2 separate regions of the Homo sapiens genome follow, and region 1 is linked to region 2. Evidence: promoter capture Hi-C in 16 types of primary human blood cells and fetal thymus (Javierre and others, 2016). All regions are on one chromosome and are shown on one strand. The core of a region is centred on a gene start or on the middle of the fragment in contact, and the rest is flanking DNA. Distances in the headings are between cores, read along the strand shown. Region 1 has its middle 12 kb from the start of ACP6. Region 2 holds the start of BCL9 (BCL9 transcription coactivator).

Region 1 (3,956 bases), core at 1,366-3,865, 140 kb after region 2:
ACATAAAGGTTCTCCACCTCCCCACCAGACTCAGGAGCCCAGCCAGCTTCACCCAGTGGATCCCGCACCAGGGCTGCAGGTGGAGCCGCCTGCCAGTCCCACGCCATGCGCCGGCACTCCTCACCTCTTGGGTGGTCGATGGGACTGGGCGCCATGGAGCAGGGGGCGGCACTCATCGGGGAGGCTCGGGCCCCACAGGAGTCCACGGAGGGGGTGGGAGGCTCAGGCATGGCGAGCTGCAGGTCCCGAGCCCTGCCCCGTGGGAAGGCAGCTAAGGCCCGGCGAGAAATCGAGCGCAGCGCCGGTGGGCTGGCACTGCTGGGGGACCCAGTACACCCTCCGCAGCTGCTGGCCCGGGTGCTAAGCCAGTCATTGCCCGGGGCCGGCAGGGCCAGCCGGCTGCTCCGAGTGTGGGGCCTGCCAAGCCCACGCCCACCCAGAACTCCAGCTGGCCCGCAAGCGCAGCGCACAGCGCCGGTTCCCGCTGGCGCCTCTCCCTCCACACCTCCCTGCAAGCTGAGGGAGCCGGCTCCGGCCTTGGCCAGCCCAGAAAGGGGCTCCCACAGTGCAGCGGTGCGCTGAAGGGCTCCTCAAGTGCGGCCAAAGTGGGAGCCCAGGCAGAGGAGGCACTGAGAGCGAGCGAGGGCTGTGAGGACTGCCAGCATGCTGTCACCTCTCACTGACACCAGGCCAGATCCTACATTCCCAGGCTCCAGGTCTGCTCCCCAGTCTCAATCTCCAAGCCAACCCTAACATCCCTATGCTCCAGTCTGACCCAACCTCTAGCTGGCCCCCATGCCTCAGGCTTTGAGCTCACTATAGTGCCAGGCCAGCCCTCACAGATCAGGCTCCAGGCCTACCCTGAAGATTCCATCTTCAGGTTTACTCCAGGGTCAGACCAGTCCCAGTGGTCTCAGGCTCTGGATGCCCCCCAACCCAGCATCAGGCTGGGCCCCATAGCATCAGGCTTCATGCCTATCTCAGAACTAGGCCAACCCCTACAGCCCTAATCATCAGGCCAGCACTCAGCCTTCAGGCTGGCCTGCAGATATAGGTTCCAGGCCTGCCCAGGATAAGGCTAGCTCCTGCAGCTCCAAGCTACAGGCCCGCGCTAGTTTAAGGTCAGCCCAAAGCCACATCAGCCCACACAGCCTGATGCCTTAGGCCCATCTCAGTGCCAGGTCAGTACATCTCAGGCACAAGGCTGATACCACAGACACAGGTTTCAGTCCTGCCTAGTGCCAGGCTGATCCCTGTGGCCCCACACTCCAGGCTGGCCCCTGCAGTCCCATGTTCCAGCAGATGTAAGGGCCAGATTTGTCCCAGCTGACCTCAGTGCTAAGCTGACCCTCATGGACCTAGGTTCCAGGACTACTCCTAAATACCCAGGTTCTAGGCCAGCCCCCATAGACCCAAAACTCCATGAACTCAGGATACAGGTCTACCCCAGTGTCAGGTCAGTCCCCATGGACACAGGCTCTGGGCTTATCCTAGTGGACCCAGTCTCCGACCCATTCCATGGCCTAGCCAGCCCCTACAGACTCAGGCTTAAGGCTCACCCTAGTTTCAGATCAGCTACTATGGAACCAGGCTTCAGGCCACCCCCAATGGATATAGGCTCTAGATCTGCCCTTGGACCTAGGCTCCAGGCTCACCTCTGCAGACCCAATCAATACATCTACCTCAGTGGATCCAGGATCCAAGCTCAATCTTATGAACCCAGGCACCAGGTCTTCCCACTTGCGAACCCAGGCACAAGGCCCACTCACCCAAGGACACCAGCAGCAAGTACGCCAACAGGCCACGCTAGATGGACTGCCCAGAATCTCTGGACATGCTGACTGGTGAAGGATTTCCCAAACAAACCTAGTTTGCAAAGACTGGAATAAGTCTCCACTTCTTAAAATAAGCAGACACCAGCAAATGGCCACAAAGATCAAGAATAATCAGAGAAACATGTCATCACCAATGGAAGAAAATAAAACATGAGTAACTGACACTAAAGAAATGGAGATATATAAACTGCCTGATAAATAATTCAAAATAATAGTTGTATAGCAAACTTCAATAAAATACAGAGAAATAATTCATTGAAATCAAGAAAACAATAAATGACCAAAACAAGAAATTTAACAGAGATTGAAATTATGAAAAAGTAACCAAATTCTGGAGCTGAAAAATACAATGAATTAAATTATAAAATGCAATAGAGAGCATTGACAGCAGAATTGATAAACAGAAGAAAGAACCTCCAAACTCAAAGACAATTATTTGAAAATATGCAACAAGAAGAGAAAAAGGAAAAAAGAATGAAAAGGAATGATGAAAGCTTATGGGATTTATGGAACAGTATCAAAAAAGCAAATGTTCAAGTTATAGGAGTTAAAGTAGAAGAAAGAGAGAGAGAAATTTATGTTTATTTAAAGAAATAATAACAGAAAATAAATTAAATCTGAGAAAGAAATATCCAGGTACAGGAAGGTCAAAGGACTCTGATTAGACTCAAGCCAAACAAGACTGCAAGACATATTACAATCAAACTGTCAAAAATCAAAAATAAAAAGAAGACACTGAAAACAGGAAGAGGAAAGAAGCAAATCATCTATAAAGGAATTCCTAAAAGTCTATCAGTGGATTCCTCAGCAGAAACACTGCAGGCCAAGAAATATTGGGATAATATATTAAAAGTGCTGAAGGGAAAAAAAAACCCTATCAACCAAAAATACTATACCCAGCAAAGCTGTCCTTCAGAAATAAAAGAATGATGAAAACTTTTCCAGGTAAACAAAAGCTGAGTGAGTTCATTCCACATGATCTGTCTTACAGGAAATGCTAAAGGGAATTCTTCATGCAGAGCAAAAAGGATGCTAATTATTAATAGTAACACAACATATGAAAGAATAAAGCTTACTGGTAAAATTAAGTACACAGTCAAATTCAGAACACTATAAAACTGTGATGGTGGTATGTAAATCACTTATATCTTTAGTATGAATGTTAAAAAACAAGTATTAAAAATAATAATAGTCACAATAATTTTTAAGGGATATACAGTATAAAAAATGTAAATTGTGACCTCAAAAACAGAATGTGGGAGTGGATAAAGTAAAAGTGTAGTTATTTTATGTAGTTAACATTAACTTCTTATTAGCTTAAAATTGCCTGTTATGACTATAAGATGTTTTATGTAAGCCTCTTGGTAGCCACAAAGCAAAAAATTATAGTAGATACATAAAAGATAAAAAGGAATCAAAGCATACCATTGGAGAAAATCATCTAATCACAAAAGAAGACATCAAGGGAGAAAAAAGAAACAAAGGATCTATAAAACAACCAGAAAACAATTAATAAAATGGAAGTAGTAAGTTTTTACCTATCGTTAATTACCTTGAATGTAAATGGAGTAAATTACCCAATCAAAAGACATAGAGTGGCTGAATGGATAAGAAAAGAAGACCAAATATACACACCCTACAAGAAACTCACTTCACCTGTAAGGACACACATGAATTGAAAGTAAAGGGATGGAAAAAAATATTCCATGCGAATGGAAGCCAAAAGAGAGTGAGAGTAGCTATACTTATATCAGATAAAATAGACTTTAAGTCAAAAGCTGTAAAAGGAGACAATGAAAGTCAATATACAATAATAAAACGGTCATCAAATATGTAACAATTGTAAATATGTATGTTCCAACATTGGAGCACCTAAATATATAAGGCAAATATATTAATAAATCTGAAGAGAGAGATGGATTGCAATACAGTAATAGCAGGGGACTTAAATACCCTACTTTCAACAATGGATAGATCATCCAGGCAGAAAATCAATAAGGAAACATTGAACTTGAACTACACTTTAGACCAAATGGACCTAATAGATGTTTATAGAATATTCCGTACAATAGCAGCAGAACACACATTCTTCTCAAGTGCATTGCAATATTCTCCAGGATA
Region 2 (4,059 bases), core at 560-3,059:
CAAATTAAGGGGGAAAATAACAGGAACAAGTCTGTGTCTTTGATGTGGTGAGTTTTAGGTAGTGACACCTCATTTAGCTGGTGTTAAGTATGAAAGAAGTCATAATTTATTCTTTACTGCATACCTATGAAGGAATGAGTGATGTGTGTTCTCATAATTTCCATTTTGTAAAGGAAGATTCTGAGGAATAGAGTCTAAACAATCTTCATGAAAAAGTACAGAACTGATTCAGCAGCAGTTAGGAGCTAAGCTTCCATTCAGATCCTGTTGCATAGGGATAACTCTTCTGGCCTAGGCAGAGGAGACCTTGTTAGGTCTGTGAGTCCACAGTATCTAAAAATATGAATGTCATATAATCATCCTGTCATTCTTCTTCCTGATCTCAATTGGCCCTCCTGATTTCATGCCATCTGCAAATTTGCACATCCTTTGTGCTCCTTTTTGCTCACATTTTATGCCTTCTTTTACCATCTCATTTACTCTGCATGTTTCAATCTTTCTGGGCTTCCATTTTTCTTCTTTTTTTAATGCAGTGTTGTTTCTCTCTCTCTCTCTCTCTCTCTCTCTCTCTCTCCACTCCTTTACAGCCCCCACCTCCTCCCTCCACACCAATCAAATTCCTGCTTGTTTCTTGCCATATTCATTATCCTACCTCATTCCCCTCTTATTCCTAGAAAACAGCACACTCACCCTCCCCTCCTCCAACTCTCAGGCCCACCCTCCATAAATTCCAGCAGCCTGGCAATCAGTAACTTTAGCATCACACTTCACAGCTCTCCTAGTTTACACTACTTGTTACTACTCTCCTTGCTACTGCTCTCTAGGGTTTCTGCTAAAATAAAAAATAAAAAAAAATAAAAAAAGCTTCACTTTAAAAATATCTTGGGTACAAGTTGAACCTACAGTTAAGTTTACTCACACATTTACACATTTCATGATTTTATTTTAACTAGTAGCTCAAGTCCATGCTCAATTATGCAGTGAAAGAAGGCTAGATCCTTAGGAAACAAATTTTTCTCTATTGTAAAGAAGAAAAATCACCTAACCACTCAACAGAAACCCCAGTCCTGGGGCCACTCACCCTCTTATCTCCCTACTCCCCCAATCTCCAGCTAATGGGACTTTGCTTTTTCCTTTGTCGGGTCATTTATTTCACTTTTCCTGGCGCTGAGATGGCCTGAGTCTGTGTATGTGTGCACACGTGTGTGGCCACTGCTTTTCTTCCAAAGGACTCACCTCTCTTCTGCCATTTTACTAGGACACAGGAGGCGGCTCTCTGCTCTCGCTCTCCCTCTCTTTTTCTCCCTGCCCCCAACTCAGCCTGGGCTTTTTCCTGTCTCTTAACTCCACCAGTGCAGCAGCAACTAGCTGAGCTGCTTGAGAGAGAGAGAGAAGAGAGAGAGAGAGAAGAGAGAGAGAGAGAGAGAGGAGAGAGAGAGAGAGAGAGAGAGAGAGAGAGAGAGAGAGAGAGAGAGAGAGAGAGAGAGTGTGTGTGTGTGTGTGTGTGTGTGTGTGTGTGTGTGTGTGTGTGCCTGCGTGCGCAGCTAGGCCAAGCCTGCGAGCCTGCCTGTCACTGGAGAGTTTTAGTTTGCATTCAGAAGAAAGGAGGAGGGGAGACAAGAGGGGAGGAGGAAAAGGTGGAGGGGGGAGGAGTGGGGGGGCGCAGAGAAGGGAGGGAGAATGTCTTGTTTGTGGCTTGTCAGCAATTGCTTGAGACAAGCTTCCATGTGTGAAAGCTACTTGGCATGAATGCCTGGGCCGTACCAAGTGTCACCGCAGCAAGAGGGGGAGTCAGAAGAAAAACAGATCAGACCAGAGCAGACAATAGGCCCCTAAAGTGTTCCCCCTAAGTTGCTTTGATGTTGTCCTGGTGTCTTGATACCAGGAGGCCAGGGATTGCGGGAAAAGGGTCTTTTTTGTCTTCATTCACTTTCCCCCCTCAGTTTCTGAAATGATTCTCCAGAATTTCTCCTCATAAAAAAGGTAAGAGCCCTAACAATTCCTTCTTCGGTGGCAGGCTTGTTCGCCTGTGCCTGGAAGTGGGGGTCTCATTCCTGCGCTGCTCTGGAGGAGCGCTGGGGTCCTGCGATTGGAGCTCCTGCGTTGCCCCTGGAAGTCTTTCAAGGCATCCAGGACTGGGGATGGCCCCTCTTTCGAGGGAACCCCAGTAACACGATCTGTGCCTCTGGGTTGGTGGGGGAGAAGGGGTGGATGGAGAGGGCTGGGAGGAGGGTGTGAGGGTGGGAGGGAAAAGAGAGAGAGAGAGGGAGCGCGAGAGAGGGAAGCCTGGAAAAGAGGGAGAGAAGGGCAGAGCCTTGGTTCAGGGAAACCCCAGCCCAGAGCCCAGGGAGGCCTTGCAGGCTCCGAGCTGTGCATTCTCAGGCTGAGCAAGGGCCGGCCAGGGCTCCGCCGAGTGACTGCAGAGATTGCATCGAGCTTTGTGTGTGCCAGTGTGCCCGTGGGTCTGTGTGTGCGTGTGGACTTCCCACACACTGCCCTGGCGTGCCTCGCTGTGAAGGGGAGGCACCCCGATCCTTACCACCCCAGCCCAGACTCTCCGAGGAGGAGCGGCATGGCAGGCAAGAAGGGAGAGCAAGAGAACTCTGCCACAAGACGATCCAGAAACTTTTCCAGTCTCAGGGATTCCTCTGGTCGTAGAGACTGTTGAGTTGTGGGGTGCCCCGTGCCTCAATTTCCCCATCTGTAAAATCAAGGTTGCTGATCAGGGATGCTGTATGCCTCCCTGGGATTGAGCGAAACAGAACAGATCACTGTGTCTGAAACGCGTGGAGAAATCGTCAGCTAGAGATGCTGTGGAATCACAGAGTAGAAGTGTTATCATTATTCTTGATCATCATCATCAGGGTAATAAAAACATCATTAAAGACACCCTGAGACAAATAGACTGAGGAGCACAGATCAAGTGTCTGAGCATTTCTAAGGAAACAAAAAGCCTTGTTCCACCTGTTGGCTTCTGTCCTTTTTCTCTTGTGTCTTTTCGTTAGATTTATTGGCCGATTTGTACAGAGAATGGGGTGGGAGGGGTTGGGTTTTCCCCTTTCCTCCTCCTTGTACGTATTTTTGTTTTAAAGAAGGTCAATGTAAGATGCTTGAGCGAGAAAATGTGCCTCCTGGTATAGTAGTTTATTCAAGACCTTGTGTTTTCTGGGGCTGGCAGGGCATGCAGACGCATCTGTAAACTCTACCTTGGAGGTTAAAGATTTTTATTGTGGCTTTTAGAGATTAAATGAGATTTATTTACAATTGCTGTTTATCAGAGAGTAAATATCTTACTGTGTGTGTACGAGGCTAAGAATGTGAAGGCTGTTTACTCGCCGGTGGTTTTGTGGATAAAACCTTTTGCTTTTTCAAGTGACATCTTGAGGGATGGAACAGAGGGCTAAAATCAGTGCCTAACATTCATCTTAACAATTTTTTTTGAGGAAAAAAAATGTCTGCTTATTTTCTTGAATTGTGGATTTCCTTTCTTCTGTTCCTACACATTGATTGTTTAAAGGCTCTCAGTTGTAGCTCTCTCTGAATTCTCTGGAGGAGTTCTGCTTTCTTACCTAATTCTAGGTTTTCTGTGACTCTGCTACTTGTCCAAAAAAATCTGTAAAAGTCTAGGAGGCTGTGCCTCCTTCCATTCTAACTGCAAATGTTTATCAGACTGACTCCCTGTGATAGCTGGAGATTGAAGCAAAGGGCCAGCCCTGGCTGAGAATATTTATGTGCTTTTCACAGAGGCCTGGAAACCTGACTTCTGAGTATGGGAAAAGCTGAAGGAAAGCCATTAGTTGGCCTGGATCTGGCAAGAAGGTCCCCCTACATTTAAGGTTTTATTAAAATAAAGCTGTATTTTATGCATATATATATCTGAAAACTTAGTTGTTTTCTACTTTATAGTCAGAGATCTTACCATGGTTGTTCCTGACAAGATTTCAGGGTCCAGATATCTTCCTAAAATGTTAGAATTTAAGAACTGCAAGGAAAAAGAAGTGTTATTCCATCATGTTATAGATGAGGATGTTAAGGTCCAAGAGAGATAAGCACTGATCT

The links. The method cuts DNA at HindIII sites, captures the fragments that hold promoters and counts their contacts. A CHiCAGO score of 5 or more calls a contact.
Region 1: a fragment that was not itself captured here is called in contact with the fragment with the promoter of BCL9 in region 2 in 2 of 17 cell types (fetal thymus and naive CD4 T cells); the score reaches 5.3 in fetal thymus.

What each region holds. Positions count from the first base shown.
Region 1 is chr1:147,680,653-147,684,608 of GRCh38, forward strand. No RefSeq gene overlaps it. Among named protein-coding and RNA genes, the nearest start is that of ACP6, 12 kb to the left of the region's middle. The HindIII fragment of the contact is 577 bases long and covers 2,328-2,904 here.
Region 2 is chr1:147,539,692-147,543,750 of GRCh38, forward strand. BCL9 (BCL9 transcription coactivator) reads left to right here and starts at 1,810. Exons shown (of 10, transcript NM_004326.4): 1 at 1,810-1,983. RefSeq lists enhancers at 1,468-1,762, 1,481-2,235, 1,796-1,855. The HindIII fragment of the contact is 5,169 bases long and covers 1,719-4,059 here.